2 separate regions of the Homo sapiens genome follow, and region 2 is linked to region 1. The links are contacts of gene promoters, found by promoter capture Hi-C in blood cells and fetal thymus (Javierre and others, 2016). All regions are on one chromosome and are shown on one strand. The core of a region is centred on a gene start or on the middle of the fragment in contact, and the rest is flanking DNA. Distances in the headings are between cores, read along the strand shown.

Evidence for each region. Contacts are between HindIII fragments. The CHiCAGO score rates a contact against its expected background, and 5 or more counts as called.
Region 2: a fragment that was not itself captured here is called in contact with the fragment with the promoter of PROKR1 in region 1 in 1 of 17 cell types (non-activated CD4 T cells); the score reaches 5.3 in non-activated CD4 T cells.

The regions. Positions count from the first base shown.
Region 1 is chr2:68,641,374-68,645,245 of GRCh38, reverse strand. PROKR1 (prokineticin receptor 1) reads right to left here and starts at 1,667. Exons shown (of 3, transcript NM_138964.4): 1 at 1,398-1,667. The HindIII fragment of the contact is 2,701 bases long and covers 1,035-3,735 here.
Region 2 is chr2:68,933,446-68,937,317 of GRCh38, reverse strand. No RefSeq gene overlaps it. Among named protein-coding and RNA genes, the nearest start is that of GKN2, 18 kb to the left of the region's middle. The HindIII fragment of the contact is 9,532 bases long and covers 1-3,872 here.

The DNA of each region.
Region 1 (3,872 bases), core at 418-2,917:
TCCTCACTATTTGCTGGACTTCCTGTTCCCACATTAGAACCTGCTATGACCCTAGAAGCTGGGAACAGCATTTATGAAGGCCTGTCCCCAGACAGAGGCTGTAGGGTAAAGTCACAGCCTGTGACTAACCAAGTGATGAGAATGGGGACGCTAGAGCAAAATTTTTCCTTGGCTGGTTGAGTGTCCAGGGGTAAATAGCTTAAACACTCAGAGGTTCAACTTCTGCCAGGCAGGAGATCAATAATGTCTGCACAGCCTGGAGCTCCCTGGAGGAGAGTGTTACACCCTAGAACTGCAAGGAGTTACTACTGCGCTCTCAGGCCTCCTCTGTCAGCTGCAAGGAAGGGGAGCGAAATCCTGATACAGGGACTCCACCACACCACATAATGGGGCTGGGGTGAGGGGTCTAGGGGGGTGTCAGCTGCCCTGGTGGGGACAGGGAGGCAGCCAGAGTCCCCCTGTCCCCTGCTCTCTCCCTGCAGTCCCTCCCAAACCCTGAAGACATCAGACCAGGGAGTGGGACGTAGAAGGAGGGCTGAGGTCTGGAGAGCACCCTAAAACAAATGTCAGGAGAACAGAGGGAAGAATGCAAGCCAGAGTTTTCCTGGGAAAGGAAGATGAGGAAGATGCCCAGGACCCCACCTCCCCACCCCCAGGAAAGCCTGCTCTCCATATTCCTCCGAGGCAAAACATCTGGAGCCTGTCTTCTTGGGGCCAAGTTTAAAGTCCCTCTGCGCCCCAGTGAGGCTCAGCCCCATTGCTGCCTCTCTGTCCTAACTCCTTACCCTGATTTTTTCCTTCCTCCGAGCTCTCAATTCTGTCTGGCTCAGCCCTTGCCCTCTGCCCACTCAGGGAGGAGAGGCAGAACTCAGCTGAAAAGAAGGAGGGGGGCAGGCTTGGAACCCAGGCGGGACAAGCCCCACTCCTTGCAGGTCCCGTGGGTCGCAGAGGCATGCCACTCCTGGAGGGGTACCCCTACAAGCATGCTACCTGAAGGGTCAAAGTAGTGTTTAAAAGCAAAGAATACAGAAGCTTCGGGGGTGGAGAGGAGGGCGTCACGAGATTAAGGATGATTGTCCAGAGGTCTTTTCTCCTTTATTCTCACCGTTCAGAGGGGAACCCCAATCCTACCCCCACCTGGTGACCTCTCGATCGCTAGAAGCCTCTCTCACAAACCCCTGCTGGCAAGTCCCCCGCCTGCTCCCAACTTTCTCCCTGGAGCCTGGGCAGCTTCCCCTAAGGACAGAGGAGGGGAAGCCTGGCTCTCCTGAAGAAACTCACAGGAGTGAATCCCTGGCAAAGTCCCCTCTTCACTCAGAAGCCGCCGCACCCCACGGCCGCAGCCAGTGCAGCGCGGGGTCCCTGGAGCATCCTCCCCGGGAGGGCGCGCTCTGTACCTGCGGCATCGCGGAGCCCGGCAGGCAAGGTCCGGGTTTCTTATTCCGGGGCCGGATCAGGAGACGCTTCTTCCAGAAGCCGGCAGGCGAAGGGCAGGTCCCCGCTCCCTTCCTCCTCTGCTCGGGGCTCTTTCCCGGCTCTGGCGGGGGAGTTACCTTCGCGCCGCCGCTGCAGATCCCCCGACCCGGCCCGCGCCGGACTCCCTGTCCCCGCCTCCGGTGGCCGTGAGGCGCCGAGGTGCGGGCTCTTGGCGAGGCGTGTCGCCAGCTGGGCTGCAGAGGCCGGGATCGCCCTGGGCGGGAGCGTCCGGATCGCCCTGGGCGGGAGCGTCTGGAGCTCCCAGGCGGCAGCTCGCGACGAGGACGCGCGGGAGGGAGCCGGGCCAGGCGGGCTGCGCGTTGCCCGGCTCAGGCTTCGGAACGGCCGCCTGGGGCAGGAACGGGGTCGCTGGGGCTCCGGGCAGGGCTCTGCGTCAATCCCGCGCCGGGGGCACCCATGCAGGGCGGCTGTGCCCGCCTCGGGGCACGGGGCTCCTCGGCGGCTCACCTTGGCAGCCCAGCGCCGTCGGAGTGGACGGACACGGCCCCGCTCAGCCGCGAGCTTGCAAAGGACCGAGGAGCCTCCCCCGCTGCTCACACACCTCCTCAGGGGACACTCAGGGGCCGGCCCCAACCTGGTCCCCTGGGCCAGCCTGAACGGACACCAGGGCCATCTTTGTTGCCAGCTGCCCTACCTCTCCGTAAAAGAGGCTCAGAGAAGTGCTTTCTGGAGAGCAAACAAGGGGGCGGGGTAGCACACTGGAGAGAGGAAGGACCCCCGCCCAGGGATGTCTGCTTAGAAGGCTGGGACGGACAGCGCTGACTTACAGAGCACAGTCTACCTTTACAAGCCCATAGATTCCTCAAAACGTGAGGCATATAGTCCCGCAATCCCACTCCAAGGTATGTAACCCCAAACTATTGAAAGCAGGGACACACATACACTGATGTTCATGGCAGCACTATTCACAGTAGCCAAAAGACAGAAACAACCCAAATGTCCATCAGCTAAGTGGATTAACAAAATACATATAGTATATACATGCAATAGAATATTATCCAGCTGTAAAAAGAAATGATAACAAGTGTTGGTGAGAATGTGGAGAAACTGGAACCCTGTGCACTGTCGGTAGGAAAGTAAAATGGTGAAGCCACTGTAGAAAACAGTATAGGGTTTCCTCAAAAAGTTAAAAAATACAATTACCATATGATCGAGTGTTTCCACTTCCGGGTGTCTAACCCAAAAAATTAAAAGCAGGGTGATACGGTTTGGCTGTGTCCCCACCCAAATCTCAACTTGAATTGTATCTCCCAGAATTCCCACGTATTGTGGGAGGGACCCAGGGGAAGGTAATTGAATCATGGGAGCCTGTTTTTCCCATGCTATTCTCGTGATAGTGAATAAGCCTGACGAGATCCTGTGGGTTTATCAGGGGTTTCCACTTTTGCTTCTCCCTCAGTTTCCTCTTGATGCTACCACGTAAGGAATGCCTTTCACCTCCTGCCTTGATTCTGAGGCCTCCCCAGTCATGTGGAACTGTAAGTCCAATTAAACCTCCTTTTGTTCCCAGTTTCCGGTATGTCTTTATCAGCAGTGTGCAAGTGAACTAATACACAGGGTCTCAAAGGCATGTTTGTACATCCATGTTCATAGCAGCATTATTCACCATAGCGAAAACATGGAAACAATCCAAATGTCCATCAATGATGAAGGGACAAACAAAATGCTCCACATACACACATACACTCACATGGGAACTTCCAAAAGTTTGTGGGAAAATGGAATTAAAAGATAAAAATACATAAACTTTAGCTCTCAGCATAAGCTCCATCACGTTCAAGATGCTTTTGTAATGATGGCAGACATTTAGTCCATCTCTAAAGGACTAAGGATCCTGGGAATTTTTCTATTTTATTTATTTATTTTTATTTTTTTGTTAAAACAGGGTCTGGCTAGGTTGCTCAGGCTGGTCTCAAACTCCTGGCCTCAAGCAATCCTCTCACCTCAGCCTCCCAAAATGCTGGGATTACAAGCATGAGCCACCAGGCCTGGCATGGGTCCTGGGAACTTAACCATGTCAATGAAGCCCTTTTTTTTTACATTATTAACGTAAGAAAAATAGCTGCTCCTTAAAGACTTTTTAAGATTAGGAAATGAAGTCAGAAAGAGCCAAATCAGGATGGTAAGAAGGATGGCTAATAATTGCCCTTGTTCAATTAGAGGAATGAGCAGTAGTATTGTCATGGTGGAGAAGGACTCTTTGGTGGAGCTTTTTCAGGCATTTTTTCTGCTAAAGCTTTGGCTAATTTCTCAAAATACCCTCATAATAAGCAGATATTTCATTCTTTGGCCCTCTACAGAAAATCACATGCAAAATACTGTGAGCATCCCCCAAAAACTATTGCTATGACCTTTGCTCTTGATTAGTTTGCTTT
Region 2 (3,872 bases), core at 409-2,908, 290 kb before region 1:
TTGGAAACCCATGGAGAACGGGGGAGAAAGAGAGAGGAGGACCTTTCAGCTGTGGAAGGCTCTTTGGAGAATGGTTTGTGGGAGGGGATTAGTTCTGGTTTGGCCATACTCCCAGCCCTGTAGCAAAACCTCCTCAGGGCTTCCCCTCTCTCCACACCCCTCCCAGTGAGGCTGATGCTTTGAGCTTACTCCTTACACAGTATTAACCATGCCACACTTATAGGCATTGTCATCTTGGTTTCCCCAACCCCCTTTCTCCTGTGACAGGTCCTTTGCTGGCAGTGGACAGGTAAAATCCTTACTCTAGCCTACTTCAGCTCTGTTCCTCATTCCCCGAGGGGTAGGGACTTTTAGAAAGTGGCCCATCCCATGGTACATGGTCCCTTCTTGACCACACTAGGACTCAAGTACAAATTAGCATTTCCCTTTTTATGAATCACTTAAAAAGTGGTACTACCACACTCCACAGCAGATATTGCCACTTTTAAAATGATTTTTAAAAAGGAGAAGGCTAATTTCTTCCCTGCTGGCTTCCCTACCTGCACCTTGTAGATAGCACCACCCGGGGTGCAGGCTGGGGCAGGCTGTGGTGGGAAGGGAAGCAGTGGTGTCCCAGTTCTGGAGAAAGGCTTGCAGACTCTGCCTTTGGCAGGATTTTTCTGCAATTAGCCATCTCCTGGGCAGAATGAAGGGAATTTCCCAGCCTGTTTCCTGCCTGGGCAGGCTCCTCAAATCCAGGGATGAACTATTAATACTTTCTGCAGGGCCAGCTCTCCTTTTGGTTTTATTATGGTACCAATTCCAGGGCTTTGAGGGTTACAGGGAACCAGGCTTTCAGTGGGGTGGGGCGGGGGGAGGTAGACTGCTTCTCATCTACAGTTGGAGAAGATTCCAGAAGGAGAATACTGTCTGGCTTCACTGTTCTCTCTGGGTTGTTTCCTTGGTTCTCTCCCCAGCTCCATGTTGTCTCAGTCTCCTGGATCCCAGTACCCCTCCAGGTCTTCCATGTGGGCCCCTAGACCACACCACCCACCTTCACACTCCCATTCCACAACTGAGTCCAGTGACCAGCTTATTGATACTTCCTTAATTCTCAGCCAGAGCTAGCCCTCGGATGGCCCAGCGGGTCTCGCTGCTTCAGATGTGGACTTGTGGGCATTCCCTGGCACCATTTTCTCTCTGGGTCCTGTAAGCTCCCAAGTGCAGGAGGTTCTGGGGTACACCTGTGTGCTTGGCAACATCCAGCATTGTGTTTGCTGCTTCATCTAGGTGTCCTGTTGCTCCCATTTCCCGTCATAGGGCATCAATCCTTCAGCAAAGGGAGACAGCAAATGCAATGCTGCCTGTCTGACCACGGGATATACTGGTTCAGATCTCACTAGTGATAGCCCAGACTTCAACTTGCTTTGCAGGGTATTAGATCCCCAATCCCTTAGTGCCCAGGGATTCAAAGTTTGGAGTAATCACAGCCCTGCCAAACAGTAGGGGTGCTGGTGGGGAGTGTCTGCTGGCTGTTCATGAACCTCTGCTGTCCTGGGTCTCTCTCCACTGGACACAGCAGCATCTCTAAGTTACAGACAACAATGTGCTGCCCTGCATGGTTGAACCGCTTCTGACATCTGCTAGGCATCCCGTCCCATGTGCCCTATGCCCTCTTCGATGCCAGTGAGTCACAATGGTCTATGCTTATTCACAGCAGTAATACCTAGGGAGTGCCCACGAAACCCTTTAGTCCTGGTCCCTCACTCCGCATGGATCTCCTGGGAAGGCATCCACTGAGTGGATCAGTTCATGAGAACCTGCATTTATGAAGCTCTGGAGTGTGTAGGCATCATCCTCAGTGAAGACAAGTAAGAGGCCCAGCCCTTAGAGGAGCTGCAGCAGGGAGAGTACCTTCCACCTTGAGGCCACCCCAGACCTGGAGGAGCTGCAGGCCCTGGCTCTGCAAAAGGACCTTTGAGGTGGGTGAGACTGTCTCCCAAATGGGCAGCTCTTGAAAAGGACACATGACCAGTGTGTGTGCGTACTGCCTGCTCTGAGTCTTCATTGGTCCCTCTGTCTTCCTTTTCATATGTATGCACATAAAATATACTGATGTTTGTGTTTTTTTTTTTTTTTTAAAAAAAAGCTGGCCTGAAGGAGCAACTGGGCCCAGGATATGAGTGTGCCAATGGAGCTTTTGCAGGAAGCTGGGTGAGGCATGTAGATGAGGTTCTTATTTTTGTTATTTCCCATACAATTGTGTTTCTTACAGTAAATGACATGTCACATGTCACGCAAACTCGTTTGCTCATCTGAGATAGAATTAAATAGGATTTGTTCATTCAGAGCTCCCAGGATTAGAATACATGGACCCAGACAAATACTTTATTATACAAATGTCTGTTTGGATAACTGACTCAATGAATGAATTCAAGCATTTGTTAACTCAAACATAATAAATATAAATTGGTGAATTAATAAAATATTGAGACTTCTAGCTTCTAATAATGATGAAGTAGCTTATATCAGACTAACATGCCTTCCATAACAATTGTAAACCTGGAAAAAAATATAAATAGTAGCCATTTGAAGACAATAAAGTTACCCCAAACAGGCAGAAACTAACGAGGATATGACCTTTAAAAGAAATGCTTATTCATCTATTGCTGGTAAGAGTTGTCTAATACTCTGTGGCAAAACCAGTCCATTGATTACCCAACCCCACAGCTCCAATTTAAGTAGCAACAAAAAAAAAGCCCTTAATTTTAGAAAATATATTCCTTTAGTTCCAGGGGATTAATCATGATTAGTCTGAATCAGTAGTTTTCAACTGGGGTGTGATTTTTCTCCCCTCCCCTGGAGACGTCTAGTGGTGTTTGGAGATATTTTTGATTGTTACAGCTGGAGGGTACGTTATTGGCATCTAATGGGTAGACACCGGAGATGCTGCTAAATATCCTACAATGCCCAGGGCACCGCCCTACAACAAAGAATGTTCTGGCTTCAAATGTTTACAGTGCCAAGGCTGAGAAAGCCCTGGGCTAAATCAGTCTTGGTTTCTTTTAAGACAATAAAGCAGTATCATTTTCCTCAGTCTATGATTGGCCTGTGGGTGGCCATATGATCTCGGTTCCTGCCAATGAGTTATAAGTAGAAATCTGCTAAGTGGGGCTTTCAGGAAAGATTTTTCTTTCCTAATAAGGAGTAACAGACTCAGCTGGCATGTGACTCTGCCCTTTGTGTGTTCCTATCATCCTTCCCTCAATGAGGATATGAGGCTGATGTCAGGAGATGATTGGCCATTTTAGGACCATGAGGCAACAATCCTAGATAAGGAAGATTCGGGAAAGAAAGAAAGAGCTAGAATGCCTGACTGCATTATTCCAGAGCTGCTCCAGCTGGGACTTCCTTCCTGGATCAGTATCTACCTGTTTAGGCCACTGTGACTGAGTTCTCTTTTTTCACCGTTGAAAGCATTTCTTACAGATACACCTGAAAAAGGCTGGATAACTCCAGTGAGTACACATGCCTCCAGACCTGGGCCCACCCAGCGCTGCTGTCTCCACTTCTTTCACCCCTAAAACCCTTTTGCAAATTCCAGGCTCACCACCTTCCTTTACTCACGCTGCAGAAACCCAATACTGAGGGCTACTCCTAGGATAACTTCAAGCAAATGTCACTTGAAGCTCACTGCCCAGCTCTCTTTGGCCTGCCATTCCTTCTTATCAGTCCAGACACTGTCCCTAATTCTCCCTTGGCTCTTGGGGAAATGTCCGATGTTGCAGCAACTCTGATGCACAGGGCTCAGCACACATTCAGGAATGGAATCGAGTGCTTCTTGGCGTTTAGGATCTAGGTGTATCCCATTTTAAGGTGGTAAGCCCATTTCC